Linked DNA regions of Homo sapiens: regions 1 and 2 are each linked to region 3. Evidence: promoter capture Hi-C in human tissues and cell types (Jung and others, 2019). All regions are on one chromosome and are shown on one strand. Each heading gives the region's core, a stretch centred on a gene start or on the middle of the fragment in contact. The rest is flanking DNA. Distances are from core to core; before and after follow the strand shown.

Region 1 (2,793 bases), core at 172-2,671, 120 kb before region 3:
TTTCTGCTTGGTTAGCTTAACAGTGCGCTAACAATTGAACAGAGATTTCCTTAGATGCCTGGAACCATTAAGCCTCTTTGCAAGAGGGCTCTGTGTGTGTTAGGGCATGCCTTCAATGCTCAACCAGGTACTCTGCTCTATTTTGGCTTCACTTCTTACTTGCATGGGGCGAGCCAGAGGTAAGAACTTAGCACTCGCTCAGATCTTTCCTGAGCACTTGCAGAGCTCTGGGCTTGTGCACAATCCTTTGCTTCTGTGTGGCCTTCTAGATTCCCAGGAATATGTCAGAGCATTTTTAAGCCCCATGTAGACATTTCACACCTTGCCTTTTTCCTCCAGCTTTTTGGTTATCCTATTGTGCTTTGAAGGAACACTAGCCCCTTTCTGCTACCTCCAGTGGCTGTCAGGCTACTGGTTTTAACCATTATTGTGGGCCATTGATTTTTGTGGCTACCCTATAGCCAGAAACTGGGAAGGGAAATGGCAATTGGAATGTCATGAGGCTCATTGTTCTTACCAAGATTCAACCATTTTTTCTTGAAAAAAAAAAATGCTCCCTGATGGCTTCAAGCCTTTGATTAATTTCTAAAATTCTGAAAAAGTTGACTCTGACAATTTTGCCAGTGTGCTCATTGCTTTTATGGAGGATAGAGTTTTGGGGGGGTCCTTACTCTGTCATTTTCACTGATGTCATCTTTATAGTCTTTTTTTAAGCTTTGATTTTCTATGTTTAAAAAATTTTTTTTTAATATTTTAGATTTAGGGGGTACATGTTCAGGTTACTAACATGGATATATTGTGTGATGCTGAGGTTTAGGCTTCAACTGAAACTGTCACCCAGATAGTGAACATAGTATGTGACAGGTAGTTATTCAGCCCTCCCTCTCTCCTTCCCCTCTTTTGGAGTCCTGGATGTCTATCATTCCCATCTATATGTCCATGTGTACCCAGTGATTAGCTTCCAATTATAAGTGAGAACATGCAGTATTTGGTATTCTGTTTCTGTGTCGATTCACTTAGGATAATGGCCTCTGATTGCATCCATGTTGCTGCAAAGGGCATGATTTCACTTTCTCCTGTGGAAGCATAGTATTCCATGGCGTGTATGTACCACATTTTCTTCATCCAGTCTACCACTGATGGCCGCCAAAGTTGATTCCATGTCTTTGCTATTGCAAATAGTGCTGCAGTGAACATGCAAGCACAGACATCTTCTTATTAGAAAGATTTATTTTCTGGGGGTATATACCCAGTAATGGGATTGCTGGGTTGAATGGTAATTCTATTTTTAGTTCTTTGAGAAATCTCCAAACTGTTTTCCATAAGGGCCGAACTAATTTACAGTCCCACCAACAGTGTATAAGCATTCTGTTTTCTCCACAACCTCTCAACCCCTGTTAATTTGTGTTTTTTTTTTTTTACTTTTTTAATAATAACCATTCTGAGTGGTGTGAGATGATATCATATTTTGGTTTTGATTTGCATTCTTTGATGATTAGTTATAATGACCATTGTTTCATATGTTTATTGGCTGTTTGTATGTCTTCCTTTGACAAGTGCCTGTTTTTGTCTTTTGCCTGCTTTTAAATGGGTTATTTTTTTTCTTGTTAATTTGTTTAAGTTCCTTGTAGATTCTGGATATTAGTCATTTGTTGGATGCGTAGTTTGCAAATATTTTCACCCACTCTGTAGATTATCTGTTTCCTACGTTGATAGGTTGCTTTTTTTTTTTTTCCTGTGCAGAAGTGCTTTAGTTTAATTAGGTCTCTTTATCAATTTTTGATTTTGTTGCATTTACTTTTGAGGACTTAGTCATAAATTATTTGCCTAGGCAAATGTCCAGAAGAGTATTTCCTAGGTTTTCTTCTAGAATTTTTATAATTTGAGGTCTTACATTTAAGTCTTTAGTCCATCTTGAGTAATTTTTTTTGTATAAAGAGGTCAAGTTTCATTCTTTTGCATATGGTTAGCCAGTTTTCCCAGTACTGTTTATTGAATAGAGTGTCCTTTCCCATTTCTTTATTTTTGCCCATGTTGTCAAATATCGTTTGGTTGTAGATGTGTGGTTTTATTTCAAGAGTCTCCATTGATCCATGTGTCTATTTTTGTACCAGTACCATGCTATTTTTGTTACTGTAGCCTTGTAGTATAGCTTGAAGTCAGGTAATGTGATGCCTCCAGCTTTGTTCTTTTTGCTTAGGATTGCTTTGGTTATTTGGGCCCTTTTTTGGTTCCATAAGAACTTTGGAATTGTTTTTTCTAATTCTGTGAAGCATGATGTTGAGATTTAATAGAGATTGCATTGAATCTATATATTGCTTTGAGCAGTATGGATATTTTAACAATATTGATTCTTTCAATCCATGAGCATGGAGTGTTTTTCCATTTGTTTATGTCTTCCATTATTACTTTTATTTTCAATCTACCCTTAGTAAATTTTAAGTATACAATAAAGTATTGTTAATTGTACTCACATTGCTGTACATTAGATGTCCAGAACATATTCATCCCACATAACAGAAACTTTGCACTACTTGCCTAACATATTTGCATTTGTCTCCCTCCACACCCAAGATTTTTTTTAAGCTGAAAAATATTTCTCTGTGTATATATGTGTGTGTGTGTTTGTGTGTGTGCATATTTGCATGTGTAGTTCCACATTTTCTTTATTCATTAATCCATTGAGGGACATTTAGGTTGTGTCCATATCTTAACTATTATGAATAATGCTAAAATAAACATGCAAGTGTGGATTTTTTCAAGATCATAATTTCATTTTGTTTGGATATACAC
Region 2 (2,700 bases), core at 119-2,618, 110 kb after region 3:
CTTTCTGTATTCTGTAGGGCTAGGCTGTTTGTATCTGCAGCTGATTCCACTAATACAACTTAAAGAAGCCAAGGGATGAGACATTGGTGAGAATCTCTAGTGTTGGCAGCAAACAGGAAGAAGCATCGTTTGAGAGCCAGAATTCCTCAAAAAGGGACGAACTGGGTGAAAACAAAACAACAGCTACAACAAACTATCTTTCATCAGAGGGGTGCTGAATTCATCAACATGAATTAACCATATTTCACTCCAAGGGCAATGAGCAAGATCTTATTTCCCAGACATCAAAAAAATAAATTAATTAATTAACAACCCAAACACACAAACAGTCCTGCTTCCTCCACCCAGCCTTCCTTTGCTCTTTTAACTACTTAGAATCTTGAGCTCCTCTGAATTTCTACATGGTTAATATTCCAAACCACACACTGTAGCACTTTTATTGTTATATTTTGTGTGATTTTTTTTTTCAGTTTCTTACAGGTAAAGTTAGTTTTTTCCTTCAAGCAGAGTATAGATCACTGCTTCTATGTCTCATTTCTGGCAAGATCTAATGTGGTGCTGGGTGCTAGGTAAATACCCTCTCCAGGTCACTCACCAATCTATGGAAAAGTGCCAGTGTTCCCTGACAACCAAGAGACAACACTTGATTGGTCACAAGGCATACTGAAGAATGGGCAGGATCTTCAGCTAATTTTCTACAGGAGGATCTTTTGCCCTAGATACAGATGATGGAGGGATTTGTCATCCATCATCTGTATCTAGTCTAACTTGTAAATAGGATCAAGTCCCCAGTAGGTACACCATCAGTCACAATGCACTGACATGCTTCGGTAAATCCTGGTGAGTGAAATATTTATATGCATATGCTTAGTTAACCTACAGCTATAGTATATGCTCAATTTTTTTATGACCCTTCTTGGGGCCTCAATTTTCTGCCACTTCTGGTAGAGAGCTTATTTTTTACTTCGTTGCCTTCATAGACTTCTTTCTTTCTTGATCTCAGCATTAGTTCTGCTGTTTGTTGAATGGTAACATTCGTATTTGTTTAATTCATTCTCCAGATTTGGAAATTGGTATGAAATTCATAAAACTTGAATGATAATGTTCTTACGGTAGTGGCGGAACTTCTCTTGCTTGATTGCCCTCAAATTACAAGAAGCTTGTTGACCATGTAGGCTCTAAAATTCGGAGTTTTTTTTTTTCCTTTGGAAGCCACACCCAGTAACAACTTTTTCCCCTATGGGAAAAGTCTTAGGAGAGCATGCTATCCCCAGCCTTTGAGGCAAACCTTAGGATGGGCAGGTTGTCAGTTCCTGAGGGCACTCTCTGTTTGGCCACTGTGGGGACCTGCCTGTGGGGAGAAAGTCACCATTCACCGAAAGGCAAAGGAATTACTCATGGTGCTTTAATTTCTCTTTGAGAAGGCCCCATAGGAAGCACTAGCTATAAGCAAAATCTTTATGAAAGGATTCCTTCTCTGAATTTTCCAAACAGGCCTCTTCGTTATTACCCCGAGAGAGCTGACAACTAGTCAGGCACTCAAATCTCCCTTATCATTTCCAGACTGTTTTACCTTGCTGTGAACACCCCATTGGTGGGAGGGCCACAAATGAGTCTCTCAAGCTTCTCTCAAACCACCAATCTGGTGTTGCTGAAATGCCCCAGCCCTTTTCTGGCCTTGTGTACTTGACTCCTACAACATGGGGAAGTTCCCCCTTGGATTCCAAAAGAAAATTAAGCTCCTTGGAATCCAAAACTAAGAAACTTTCACAGAGTGGCCCCAGGTGGATTGGTTATCATGATATTTCAGTCTCACCTAACCAATAAGAGAGCTGGCTGGCAAGTTCCCAGGAAGAATATTCTCATATGAGCAGTGGATTAGAGGAAGCCAAAAGATTTTCGGCCCTCTCCGTGCTCAACTTACACTCTACCTGGTTTCTGAGGTGAGATCTTGTGACGGTTGGGGCCCTGCAAAGCAATTAAAAGAAATAAAGCAAAGTATTATATTTTAATTGATGTAATCTTCAAGCTCCCAGTGGAATCTGGGGTGATATCTGACTAGAGTTACCCTAGGTATCAATAGATGACTATTCTGTGAAAGTGCATTTAGGAAGACAAAACCCTAGGAATCCTGAACTTCATTAACATATGTATCCGCTTTTGGGGATGGGGGGGTGGATTGGCTCAGGCTCCTAGGACTAAAAATTGAAAGAAGCCACCTAGACTTTTCTGGGATCTGAACAAAGAGCCAAAGCGGGTGGGGGAGTAGAGAGGGAGGTGGAGAGAAGGAGACAGAGAGGGCAGGTGGAGGGGAAGACAAAAAGTGGGTTTATGATTTTATTTGCTTTTCAAGTCTAGTACCTGGATATTAGACACACTGAACCATACTTTCTAAACCCAAACAGCTGTCATCCATCACTAACATTTCAGGATTTGTTTCTGTTTTATTGTAAATATTCCAGTTGAAGAAAGATAAACAGACAAGAAAAAACTGCTTTATACAGTATACAGAGTCAGATAGAAAATACAGAATGGAAAAGAAAGCCAACAACCAACAGATAAAAAGTGGAAACAAACCAAGGAAGAGTATTAGCTGGTTGCAAATTCACCCACTAGCTTGAGCAAGGTGAGGCCCTGGTCTCAGCAGCTAACAGAAACCGTCTAGTGCTGGCAGTCTTATCTTGATTCCACACGGAGAAA
Region 3 (2,797 bases), core at 8-2,507:
GCAGGTCCTCCGAAGTTCAACACTTCATGAACAAATTAGATGCCCAGAAGAAGCCAGTCTGGAAGTGTAATGAGATCATTCAAACTGTCAAGTAATTATTTAGGATCAGTGAGAGTGGTATGCGTAAAGGAAAGGTATCCCCTCTGCATCAAATAAAGCGCTGAAAACTAGGACCCAACGCTAAAGATGCATGCAGGTCCCGGGTTGTGTCTCTGCAGCAGAAACCACACCCCAGTGAGACCTGGATTTCCTAATTTTCACTACAGCTTTCCATCAGAATCAAACAAAAGTTGGTTAAAACACAATGTGTTCTACAGCTAGGAGAATTTAGAGTCTGCCATCACCTTCTCCATAGAATGGAGCCGATCCATCATTTTGAAGTATTGACCAGATTCAGGGCCAGTCTACTCTGTTCACTGACTTCCCACAGTGAAATGAATGATAGAAACATTAGTAATAAAAAAGGACCAATCCAGAGTTGGAATCACAATAAAAATAGAATCCAGCGCACAAGCAACCAATTAGTTCCAGCAAGTTAATTAAAGAAGGAACACAGCAAAGAGAAACTTGTTTTCGTGTTAGTTTACAATCGGTTGCATGGTGGCTTTACCCTCCATCAGGAGCATGTTTTGTCTGTGTCACTCTGCAAAGCTGCGATGAGAACACGGACGCAAGCTCAAGTTAGACATCACCCAAGCGTGTGGCTAGACCATGAAGTCTCCTCCTGACAGTATTCTTAAAAAAGAAAAACCTTCCTCTTATCATTTGAAGTTATCACAATTCTTCAGCCAAACTTTCACGGGAAAGGCAATGAATTTATCCTGTGAGAGTTTTATTGCAAATCTTTAGTTGTCAAGTATATATGTTGTAATTTCAAGCACATATTAAATATTAGACAGTTTTGCTGGAAAGGGTACAAAGGTTTAGCAGAGATCACACACAGCTTTAATGGAGAAGATGCCGTGCAAGTTTAAGACTAGAGCCCTTAGGGAACCGGTTCAGAGAGAAGTAAGGAGGATTCATTTAGATATTTGTATTTATGAAAAATGTCACTAACCTGTTCTGTAGAGGCTGGAGGAACTGAGTCAGAAATATTAAGCCAAATCTTGGTAAGCCAGAAAAAATTAGGTAAAACAAGAATTCATGTCAGTTCTCCTCAACTTGTTGCCAATAATTTCTGATTCCTGAAATAATGTCTGAATCTCGTACTCTTAAAACCAAAAATTAAGTTAGTCCTGCACTAGAGACAGGTAAGTGTTGAGCTGCAATCAAGTTTTTTTCTATTGATTAAGGAAAAGTAAATCTAAAGATCAGTTTCAGGATTGCGTAGAGAGGTTCTTTTCCTGAAAAACTAGACCTTTTTTTTTCCCCTTTGAAAAAAAAAGTAGATTCAGATGGAAATGTCAGGTACTTGGAGCTGAAACCTTGGGCCTTTCTGATCAGAATCACTTTGCACTGAAAAACACAAAAGAAAACCCCCCTTCTACCTTTGTACCCAAAAGAAGGCAACTGTATAATGTTACAGAATTAGCATCCACCAGCATGGGATTAAAACTCCAAACAAAGCAGCTGCCTCCAACATTTAAATGAAGTTGGTTTTCTATTAAAGTCTTTTTTTGTTTCTCTGGTTTTCAACAGTCGCCACAGATAGGCTCTACTCTATTTTTTCACAGGTATGCATGAAGTATTTAAAGAAAATTTCCAAACTTTTTAGGTTTTATGCCCTCTCTTTTCTCTCTGATGCACCGCTCTGCAGGAGATAGGACAGGGCACTTTCCAGGCAAAATCTAACAAGGGACCTAGCGCTAGACACGATCTTCCACAAGGGAAATCTCAAACTGTGGCCTGGAAACCTTCCCTAACACCCAGTGAGGGTCACTGGAGGCAGAGGGGGGAGATAAACCCCTTCTGATAAAAAATTTGCAGTAAGTAAATAGTTTAAAAGGCATGTGAATAAGAGGAAAACGTGCTCGGTTAGATGCTTCCAAGCATCCAGTAGATGTGGAATGAGCAAAACTGGCTAAGGCATAAGCTAAATCTACTATTCAAAATGTTTAAATGGAATTTATTAAGAAAGAAGTAACTTGACTGTAGCAGGAAAAAAAAACTCTTCTGCACATCAATGGGAATTTAAAAATTACTGCAAATTTTCTCTGACCAGACATTTAAATGCCAACTGTACAAAAGAAATATAATTCTGGGTTTAAGCATGTTGTCTTAAAATGGACAAGAGTGCTTGGCGAGCTAAATTTTTTTAGTTTAAATTACTCCGTGTTTTTCCAAAAACCTGTGATAATTCAGTAGGTTTCCCACATTGTTTATTCTCTCACTGGTATTATGAATCCTCCACACATATTTACTTACAGATGTTAAATGACTGCTTCTTTCCAAATGACTCACATTTATTTGTTTTTCTTTGGATTCTAGGAGTGCTTAGAATGGCGTATATTTATATAACAGAAAAGCTAGTTTCTTGGGTGCCTATTTAAAATAAAATTAAGTTCAAATCAAAGACTCATTACAGAAGGATTCTCTTTGTCCAGCCTTAGGTTTTAGTCCAGTAGCCAACCTAAATGTCTTGAAGCAAAATCGCTGGCTGTGTTTTAATTAACTGCTGGTGGCATACTAATTGCTTTCTTCCTTTTTCATGCATTCTAGGATATTTATATCACAGCCCTTTTGACCCATGTTGGATGCTCCATCCTTCTTGAGACAGGACTGCTGCCCGGATAAATGCCATCTGGGCATAACCAGATACACAAGATGGTGGCATACATGAATTAGAATGCCTTTGAGA

What was found. The method cuts DNA at HindIII sites, captures the fragments that hold promoters and counts their contacts. A contact is called where the count stands out against the background at its distance.
Region 1: a contact is called between a fragment that was not itself captured here and the fragment with the promoter of TECTA in region 3, in 2 of the 25 tissues and cell types used here (H1 embryonic stem cells and mesendoderm cells).
Region 2: a fragment that was not itself captured here is called in contact with the fragment with the promoter of TECTA in region 3 in 2 of the 25 tissues and cell types used here (hippocampus and spleen).

The regions. Positions count from the first base shown.
Region 1 is chr11:121,216,366-121,219,158 of GRCh38, reverse strand. No RefSeq gene overlaps it. Among named protein-coding and RNA genes, the nearest start is that of SC5D, 75 kb to the left of the region's middle. The HindIII fragment of the contact is 8,183 bases long and covers 1-2,793 here.
Region 2 is chr11:120,988,530-120,991,229 of GRCh38, reverse strand. GRIK4 (glutamate ionotropic receptor kainate type subunit 4) reads right to left here. Exons shown (of 21, transcript NM_014619.5): 21 at 2,324-2,700. Among named protein-coding and RNA genes, the nearest start is that of TBCEL, 34 kb to the left of the region's middle. The HindIII fragment of the contact is 4,948 bases long and covers 1-2,700 here.
Region 3 is chr11:121,099,703-121,102,499 of GRCh38, reverse strand. It overlaps TECTA (tectorin alpha), which reads right to left and starts at 1,257. Exons shown (of 24, transcript NM_005422.4): 1 at 1,058-1,257. All of the region lies in intron 7 of TBCEL-TECTA (TBCEL-TECTA readthrough), which reads right to left. The HindIII fragment of the contact is 17,013 bases long and covers 1-2,797 here.